Regions from separate parts of the Homo sapiens genome. Here region 1 is linked to region 2. The links are contacts of gene promoters, found by promoter capture Hi-C in human tissues and cell types (Jung and others, 2019). All regions are on one chromosome and are shown on one strand. Each heading gives the region's core, a stretch centred on a gene start or on the middle of the fragment in contact. The rest is flanking DNA. Distances are from core to core; before and after follow the strand shown.

Evidence for each region. Contacts are between HindIII fragments. The study calls those that stand out against the background at their distance.
Region 1: a fragment that was not itself captured here is called in contact with the fragment with the promoter of PIEZO2 in region 2 in 4 of the 25 tissues and cell types used here (dorsolateral prefrontal cortex, lymphoblastoid cells, mesendoderm cells and 1 more).

Annotation. Positions count from the first base shown.
Region 1 is chr18:11,015,072-11,019,096 of GRCh38, reverse strand. All of the region lies in intron 2 of PIEZO2 (piezo type mechanosensitive ion channel component 2), which reads left to right. Among named protein-coding and RNA genes, the nearest start is that of PIEZO2, 130 kb to the left of the region's middle. The HindIII fragment of the contact is 9,138 bases long and covers 1-4,025 here.
Region 2 is chr18:11,148,269-11,152,381 of GRCh38, reverse strand. PIEZO2 (piezo type mechanosensitive ion channel component 2) reads left to right here and starts at 2,813. Exons shown (of 56, transcript NM_001378183.1): 1 at 2,813-3,857. The coding sequence starts at 3,794. It overlaps LOC124904249 (a long non-coding RNA gene), which reads left to right and starts at 3,866. Exons shown (of 2, transcript XR_007066288.1): 1 at 3,866-4,113. RefSeq lists silencers at 2,461-2,910, 3,151-3,430, 3,451-3,630, 3,641-3,710 and an enhancer at 3,404-4,113. The HindIII fragment of the contact is 6,242 bases long and covers 1-4,113 here.

The sequences.
Region 1 (4,025 bases), core at 800-3,299, 130 kb after region 2:
TGGATTGGATGTAAGTTACATCGTGGAGGTAAGAACCAGCAGGGTTTGCTGGTGGCTTGGATGTGGACTATGAAGGGCACAAAAAATCAAGGCTCCGTCCTGAATTTTGGGGTTGATCTCACACACACACTCACGAAACACCTGTGATGGATTGTGGTGACATTTACTAAAGTGGAGAAAAATAGGTGAAGAAGTGTTTTGGGATAGAATTAAGAGATTCATTTTAGACATGTTGTGGTTGAGATATCTGTTATGGGTAGAATTGTATACCTCAAAAAGATATGTGGGTATGAGTGGACTCACATATCCACTCATCCTTAAAATAAAATGAGATCTCTTCATGGGGTTCCAAAAGGAAGGAGACATCATTTCTGTTCCTTGTCTCAATAATGCATCTTCTGCCTAATCATAGATGTCAGATTAAATGGACAAGACAAAATAGAAATATCTTTATTAGGAGCAAGCTGTCCCACCAGGCATACATGTGTGTTCACAGTAGTGTCACCCACCGTTCAGTGGCTGCTGGCGATTCTTCAGCGGGATTCACAATTTGGCCATAAATGAGACACCACAATTACGTCAAACTCTGATTAATCTTCCTGCCAACAGATCAGGAATCATATGTTAAGTCTGATCCAAGCTCATGTTCTTCCTTTATTTCAACACACACACACACACACACACACACACACACACACACACACACACACACACGACATGTTGGGAGTCCTAACCCCCAGGATCTCAGAATGTGACCTTATTTGGAAATATGGTCTTTGCAGGTGCAATCAAGTTAAGAAAAGGAGTAGTGTGGGCCATTAATTCAATATGCCTGTGTCTTAAGAAGAGAGAACACACACACACACACACACACACCACCACCACCACCACCACCACCACCACCATGCGATGACTGAGGCAGGAACCGGAGTAATGCAGCTGCAAGCAAGGACCACTGTGGATGACCGGCCACTACCCAAAGCTGGAAGGGGCAGGGAACAATTCTACACTAAAGCCTTCTCGGGGAGCAGGGCCCTGCTGACACCTTAATTGCAGACTTTTAGCCACCAGAACAGTGAGGCAATACATTTCTGTTTTTTATTTGTTTGGTTATTATTATTATTATTACTTAATAGAGACAGGGTCTCACTGTGTTGCTCAGGCTGGCCTGGAACTTCTGAGCTCAAGCTGTCCTCCCACCTTAACCTCCCAATGCACTGGGATTAGAAGTCATTTCTGTTGTTTTAAGCCACTCAGTTTGTAGTACATTGTTAGAGCAGCCGTAAGAAACTAATACAATGCCTAAGCACTTAGATCAAGATATGAATCTGAGCTCAAAAGAAGAGGTCTCCATCTGAGGATTAAAATAGTCTATCAATGCGGAGACCCTGAGGAAGAATGTTCCAGGCAGAGGGAAGAGCATGCCTGTTTTTGGCATACGATTTCTTTTATACAGAAGAACCATTCTGCAGTACAACACCCATAAACTCTGAGAAAATAAATGGGTATGAAATTTTATAGCTTGATTTCCATCCCTGGAATGATTGAAATAGATATTACCTGCACATATTATGTTAGAAATTATATTATACATACCCAGTAAAAAAAAAAAAAGCAAAACTGCATCTCAAAAAAAAAAGGCATTCATGCTTTCATAAAGATTGTGTTTATTGTAATGAAATGTTTTATGGTGCAAGTCATTTGTGGTTATTTAGAGTATTAAAAAACCCATGGATTTTCAGAATTGTAAGGGACATTAGAGGTTACGTCTTGAAGAACTCTCTTCTTAATGCTTAAGTTTTCTACATTACCATTAATAAGATATCACTTAATTTCTGCTAAAACACTTCCAGTAATGTAAGAAGCAGTTGGACTTCCAGGGCAACCCATCCATTTGACAATTAGACATTTTTGACCGTAGAGGTCAAAAACACATCTTTGTGACTTCATTAACGTGTCCAAGTTATGTTCTTTGAAAAATCTCAAAGTTAAGTCTCATCCCTCGTCCCTAGAAATTCTTTTAGATGTTTGAATGCATGAACCACGTTCTTATGAGGGTTTTCTCCAGGCTGGTGTACCTGGTTCTTCCACCTGAGACTGTTTCTAACCCTGACCCTTCAATCCTGTGCTCTCCTCTGAACTTCCCTCAGCTTGTCAGTGTCTCTCCCAACTCCATGTTTAAACATCAGCAGGACCAAGTAAATAATGAAATAAACAATTGCAGAAAGCAATTATTAGGGGAGAAGGAAATAACAAAAGGATGGAGTTTTTCCAACAAGAGCATTAAGAAGAAAAATCTAAATAAATATATCAAATCCACATGTATGGGGATGAAAACTGGGAAGGAATTTGCCTCCAGTGAAAAAACATTACATTATTTGATGGAGTTTTTCATCATGAAACATGATTTCTTCAACACCATGTACCTGTTTTGTGCATTTTTGGTTTTGCCTTTTCTAGGATTGTATTCAGAATCCCAGCATTTGTTTTCTTTTTACCTTGAGTTATCACTTGTTTAAATGAGTAACTCGTTACTTACTTTTGATGAACTAATTGCATTTCTCGGGCACACCTCTTTGTTAAGCCGCTTAACCCGACCCCCCTCATACCCACCCTTTGCAGGGGGTTCCTAGGGGTTCACTTTCTCTCTGGGGCCCCTGAAGGGAATTGTCTGGGTTTTGGTTCCTCTGTGTTGTCAGTGCCCTCCAGCCTCCTTTCTGCCTCTGGATGTTGCCTTGTGTCCTTGCTCTGTGCCTGTTTTTTCGCTCTGACCGTCTCTACCGCCACATTCTGTGTCTCTCCTGTGATTCTGCCCACAGTCATCCCATTCTCTTACATACTCTGGCCACTCTTGGCCTGTTTCTTTCCCTGTGGGATGACAGTTTCAAAGAGAGTGAATGTCAAAGGGCTCATTTCCTTCCCTCTTACCCACAGTACTCATTACATTTGCTAAATTGAGGTATTAACAGAGGTTAATAAGAGGTCCTGCTGTTGTTGGTTTGGGTCTACAGGAGCAATGGAGAAGGAGGAAGAATGAGGCTGAAGGAGGCCAGGGTGAAAAGGGAGAACAAGGAAAAGGGGAGAATGTCACCAGGATTGCCCAAGCTATTTCTCACTAACGTGCAGTTGATTTGCAAATTGTGATTGAAACAAAGAAGCCTTACAAAAACGTTTAGAAAGTTTTCATTTTCAAAATAATATTTAAAACATGAAGTTGAACATGTGTGCATGTGAACAGTTTTGATTTAAAGTGTCAGCCTTAAAGGGTTTTTTGTGTGTGTTCGTGTTTATTGTTTTCCATAAGAAATTCGAGTCTACCATAGAGCACTATGCAAATAAACAGATCTTAAGTATAAATACCAGGGCTGCAAGAGTCGTTCCTGTTCTGCAGCTTAGGGTACATAGAAATGTGTCCCTTCCCTCACAGTCAACCAGCCCAGCAAATGCAGCAGGAAAGGGGCCCACCCCTTTAGATTTGACCTTACCTTGGCACTGATTATCAAGGCGTTCTCTTAAAACATGATATTATTGATATATTCTAAAATTTTCAGGTTAAATATTTTATTTAATCTCCATAATTTGTGAACATATTATTTTATAGGGCAAAAAGGACTTTGCAGATGTGAGTAAGTTAATTACCATTAACTTCCATCTTTATTGCCAGAGAATATTCTCTTTTGAGCTCTCCATGAAATCAGGGAGGTTTGGTGAAGCACACAGAGAAGGAAGACAGAAGGAAGAGCCAGCCAGGGTGGCATGCCCCATACTGAGGAGTGAGGGGGCCCCGGATCTGGGTGAAGTGCCCCACATTGAGGAATGAGGGGGCCCTGGATTGCTGTCCCACCCAGGGTGACATCTTCCCCACACTGAGGAATGAGGGGGGCCCCGGATTGCTGTCCTGCCCAGGGTGACATCTTCCCCACACTGAGGAATGAGGGGGTCATGGATCGCTGTCTCACCCAGGGTGACATGTTCCCCGCTGAGGAATGAGGGGGGCCCCGGATCGCTGTCCCGCCCAGGGTGAC
Region 2 (4,113 bases), core at 1,564-4,063:
GAAATGCACACAAGGCAAAAAATGACACACTATGGAGAAAACCTTGAACACTTAAGAAAATGTTGATCAGTTCTTAAACATATTGCTGGGAGCATAAACATATTGCTGTCTGTCTCACTGCAGGTCACTGTGCTTTAGCATAATTGTTTGATAAATGTAGAATTAGTTCTTGTTTTTCAACAACAATAATAACAACAATAATAGGAATAATAGCAGCCAATATTCATTGAATGATTACTATGCACCAGGCATTTCTCTAAGAACTCTATAAACTGTCTCTATCTGTGTAGACTCCATATTGGGTAGGTTTTACTGCTTTCCTTAACTTACAGATGAAGAAGCTGAGGCACTAAAAGTCTCAATAATGATCAAAAGAAGTCATTGTTTGTCATTGTGGATGCAGAGAGGCATAGGGTGTCTGGTGCTTAATTCATTACCGGGGTAAACTGGTGATTATACACATCAGGTACCCATGAAATATCAAAATAATATGTCCATGAGTATTTTACATGTTTGATTTCTCCCCAAAGCATTTTTAAACTCACATACTCTTTCAAATTTTAGACAAGATTCTGGCAAACTTTGGAATAAAGTTTGCCAGGCAAGCAGAGCTCCCGAACAGTGATCAATACCCTCATGGGCTGGTGAGTCCTTAAAAACTAACCTGTCTAGACACCAGATACTGCTTCTATGAGAGCAGGGAAAATTGAGGGTTAAACAGCCCTTGTAAAAACAATGCCACTGCTATGGATATGTATGCTCAAGTCAAGTCCATTGTGAAAGAAAATACAGCTTCAGAAAGGTGGATGAGGTTTGGAGATGCTGGTTTTGAAAGCCAATGGACTATTTTCTGAGTCTGATATGAAAATGAGGACAGCGGTCTTCACCCCTGACTGCATACTTAAGAATCACTTGAGAGCTTTAAGAAAAATACAGGTGTGGGGGCCCCATCGCAGACCAATTAAATCAGGATTTCAGGGAGTGTGGAGACTGAGCGTTTTTCAAAAGCTCCCCAGGTGACTGCAACATGTAGCCAGCATGGAGAAGCCTATTTCAGATGTAGTCTAGACCGCTGAAACTTCCCCTTGAGTACATACGTTGGAAGTCTCAGAACTGGGATGTAGTTGTTAAAATCTCTAACGCCCCAGCAGCCAAGTTGGTACACACTGTGGCAGAGAAAGCTCGAAGTTTATTTGGTAAGACCACCCACCTGCTGGGAATCTTGTGCCTCCCAGCTTATGTTATTTTGAAAGAGAATTATTGTGAAAAAGTCTAGACAGTTGTTAGTATGGGAAGCCTATCAAGAACATAAGAAAGTATTCAGAGAATACAGAATTCATGTGATGACACAGTATTATTTAAAATTCAGGAGTCCTTCACCTATTAGCTCCCAAGAATGAGTCGTACATGGGGTGAGGTGGGGAGGGCATGGATGTGAAGGCAGACTTATGAACATCAAAATTAGTGGTAGATTTATATCAGGCTTCTACAAACAGGCTACACAAACCATTTCTTGATAGCATTTCTTGGTGACTGGATGCTAATTTAAGTTCTATCGTCTCCTGTAGGTCTGCTGTTGAGCTCATGACTACGCCCGGGTTTAGGTGCTATCTAAGCTTCTTGAGGATGGCAGAGCACATGGGTGGTTTAAGTTTCAGGGTGTCTTCACCATATGCCAACTGTCTTGAGTCTTCATTCAAAAAGCAATGGTTCATAGTTTTTCTGTAATTCTCAGAGAATTCGTGAAGGCACCTGAGCTCAAACCACAAGCTTACCCTGTCTCAAAAAAGGGATGTCCACAAAAGCGTTTCAAATGGCTAAAAAGACGGGGGTTTGCCTGTTTTTCATCAGCTCACTGCTCTATCCCCTCCAACTAATGCAAGCCAGGAATGTAGGTGCGGAAGGGAAGCCAGGTCCTTCCCAGTGTGTCCTCCTGATGGAATGCCAGTCCTGAACAGTCCTCTCTACAGATGCTAACAGCCTCTTCCTCCATGTCCGGAAAGACCCCTACTGTGCTCTAGCAAATCTCCTCCACTCTCGGATAACAGTTAAATAAAAGACCCAGGCACACTGCAGTCTCCCAGCTAGAGCCAGATTTCTCTAGATCTTGCCTAGAACAGGCAAAAAGCAGTGCACTAGGAGAAAGGGAGAATATTCTCAGTGCCAACGCTCTCTTTCCCCAGAGCCACGACAAGCAAGGAGCAAAACTGAGGTGAAAACGGAGAGTTCCCCCAAATGCACAAAGTGGGTGCATTATCTGTTGGGGAAGACCCGGGATTTCCCAGAGTCTATTCAGAATGGCAAGTTCTTGCTATGTGAAATATGGGCAGGGTCAACGGTGTAGATGAATTCAGCTCTATTCTTCTTAATGCCAGTGTGCACCTGTGGACCCAGCAGAAGTCGGGGTCGCACAGGACTCTCCAAGCCCCTGGCTTCTCTCCTGCCGGGCCTGTGCGTTTCCCTCGGACCTTAAACGGTTCCCTGGGTTTGGGCAAGCTCAGGGCCCGGCCGGGTGGACTGGATGCCAGGGTGCACCACCGGAATGACAGAACCACGCAGAGCCGCGGGGCTGCGGGAGCCAGTGGGGCAGGAGTGCCCGCGGAGGGCGAGCCAAGGCGCGCAGCCCACTGGCAGGCCAGGCCGGGTCTCTCCCAGGCGCGGGAGCCGCGGGTGGGGGCTTGCCCTCCGCGCCGGTGCAAGGCTCTCACTTCCCCAGCCGCTCAGGGGCGGGCTCCGCGCGCGCAGGCCCCGGAGCCGCCATCCCATTGGCCGGGGGACACGCCCGTCCCCGAGTGAGGGCTTCGAAAGTTTCATTGAAGGTGGAGAAGCGCGCGCCGCCGGGGAGCCCCGGCTGCGCCGCGAGGGCGAGGCTGCAAGGCGGCAGGCGGTGGTCGCGCTGGGCGACGGGACGGCGCTGGTTTTTCTCTTGAGTTTTAAATTGAGGCGGTGGAGGAGGGAGTGGGAGACCCACTCACCCGATATGCGCTCTGGTCTCCATTTCTCCCCACGCTCGCGCCGTTCCTTCGAGTGAGGGAGGGACTCGCAGCGCCGCCCGCGCACCGGACCCACAAGGCGAGCCCCGTGGTGGCGGGGATGGTTCTGCGCGCCTGGCAGCTCCCACCCCGGTCTCTCCGGCCCGAAGCTGGGGGGCGCAGGGGCTGAGCTGCGCTGCCTCTCGGGGATCCGCCGCGGGCCGCCTGGGGGCTGGAGGGCGAGACCCGGAGCCCGCCGGGCAGCTCCGAGAGCCGGGGCCGAGGCCAGAGCGCGGCAGCCTGCGTGGGCAGCGGAGACGAGGCCGGGCAAAGGAGACGCGGTGGCTTCAGAGGGGCTTCCAAGTAGAAAACTCCCCGGCCGCCCCCAAACGACGCCCCGGGAGCCAGGCGGGAGCACAGCACGCCCTTCTTGCCCCCTTTGCTCGCCGCGCCGCCTCCCAGGACCCTCCCAAAGCGTCCCTCTCCAAGGCCCCGGCATCAGCTACCCCTGAAGAAGCCGCCGCCGCTGCCGGATCCAGGATTCACACTAAATGGGCCGGCCGCAGGGGGCCGGGCGCCGGGCTAGGTGGCCGCCAAGAGCCTGGTGAGGGGCTACCCAGAGCCCGGTGGGCGAGGGGCGGCCAAGAGCCCCGGGAGCGTGCCCTCGGGGCGGAGAGCGTCGCGGCCCGCGCCGAGGCGATGCTCGGGTGGCTGCGAGCTGCCGGCGGCGAGAGGCCATAGACGGGCATGGGCCTTGCGTCCCACCACCCCTAGGGACCCTCGAGCCTCGCCCCTCTGCTCCGACTCGCCGGACCGACGCGATGGCCTCAGAAGTGGTGTGCGGGCTCATCTTCAGGCTGCTGCTGCCCATCTGCCTGGCAGTAGGTGAGTCTGGTCCGCTTTCCGAGGGCACTTGAGGAGGACGAGGGGGGCGCCTGGGTGGGGGACTTCTTAACAAAGTGAAGGGCTCTGGTGCTCTGGGGTTCGATTCGGGAGGCCAGCGGCGTCAGACGCGCGCTGTCCCTGGTGCACAGCCTGGCTCTCTCACTTCCCACTCTGGGGCGCGCGATCGGGGTATCTCTTAACAGGATGCTCGGGACGGGCATGTGCTGGAAACTGTTTATGTTGAATTTAGTTACAC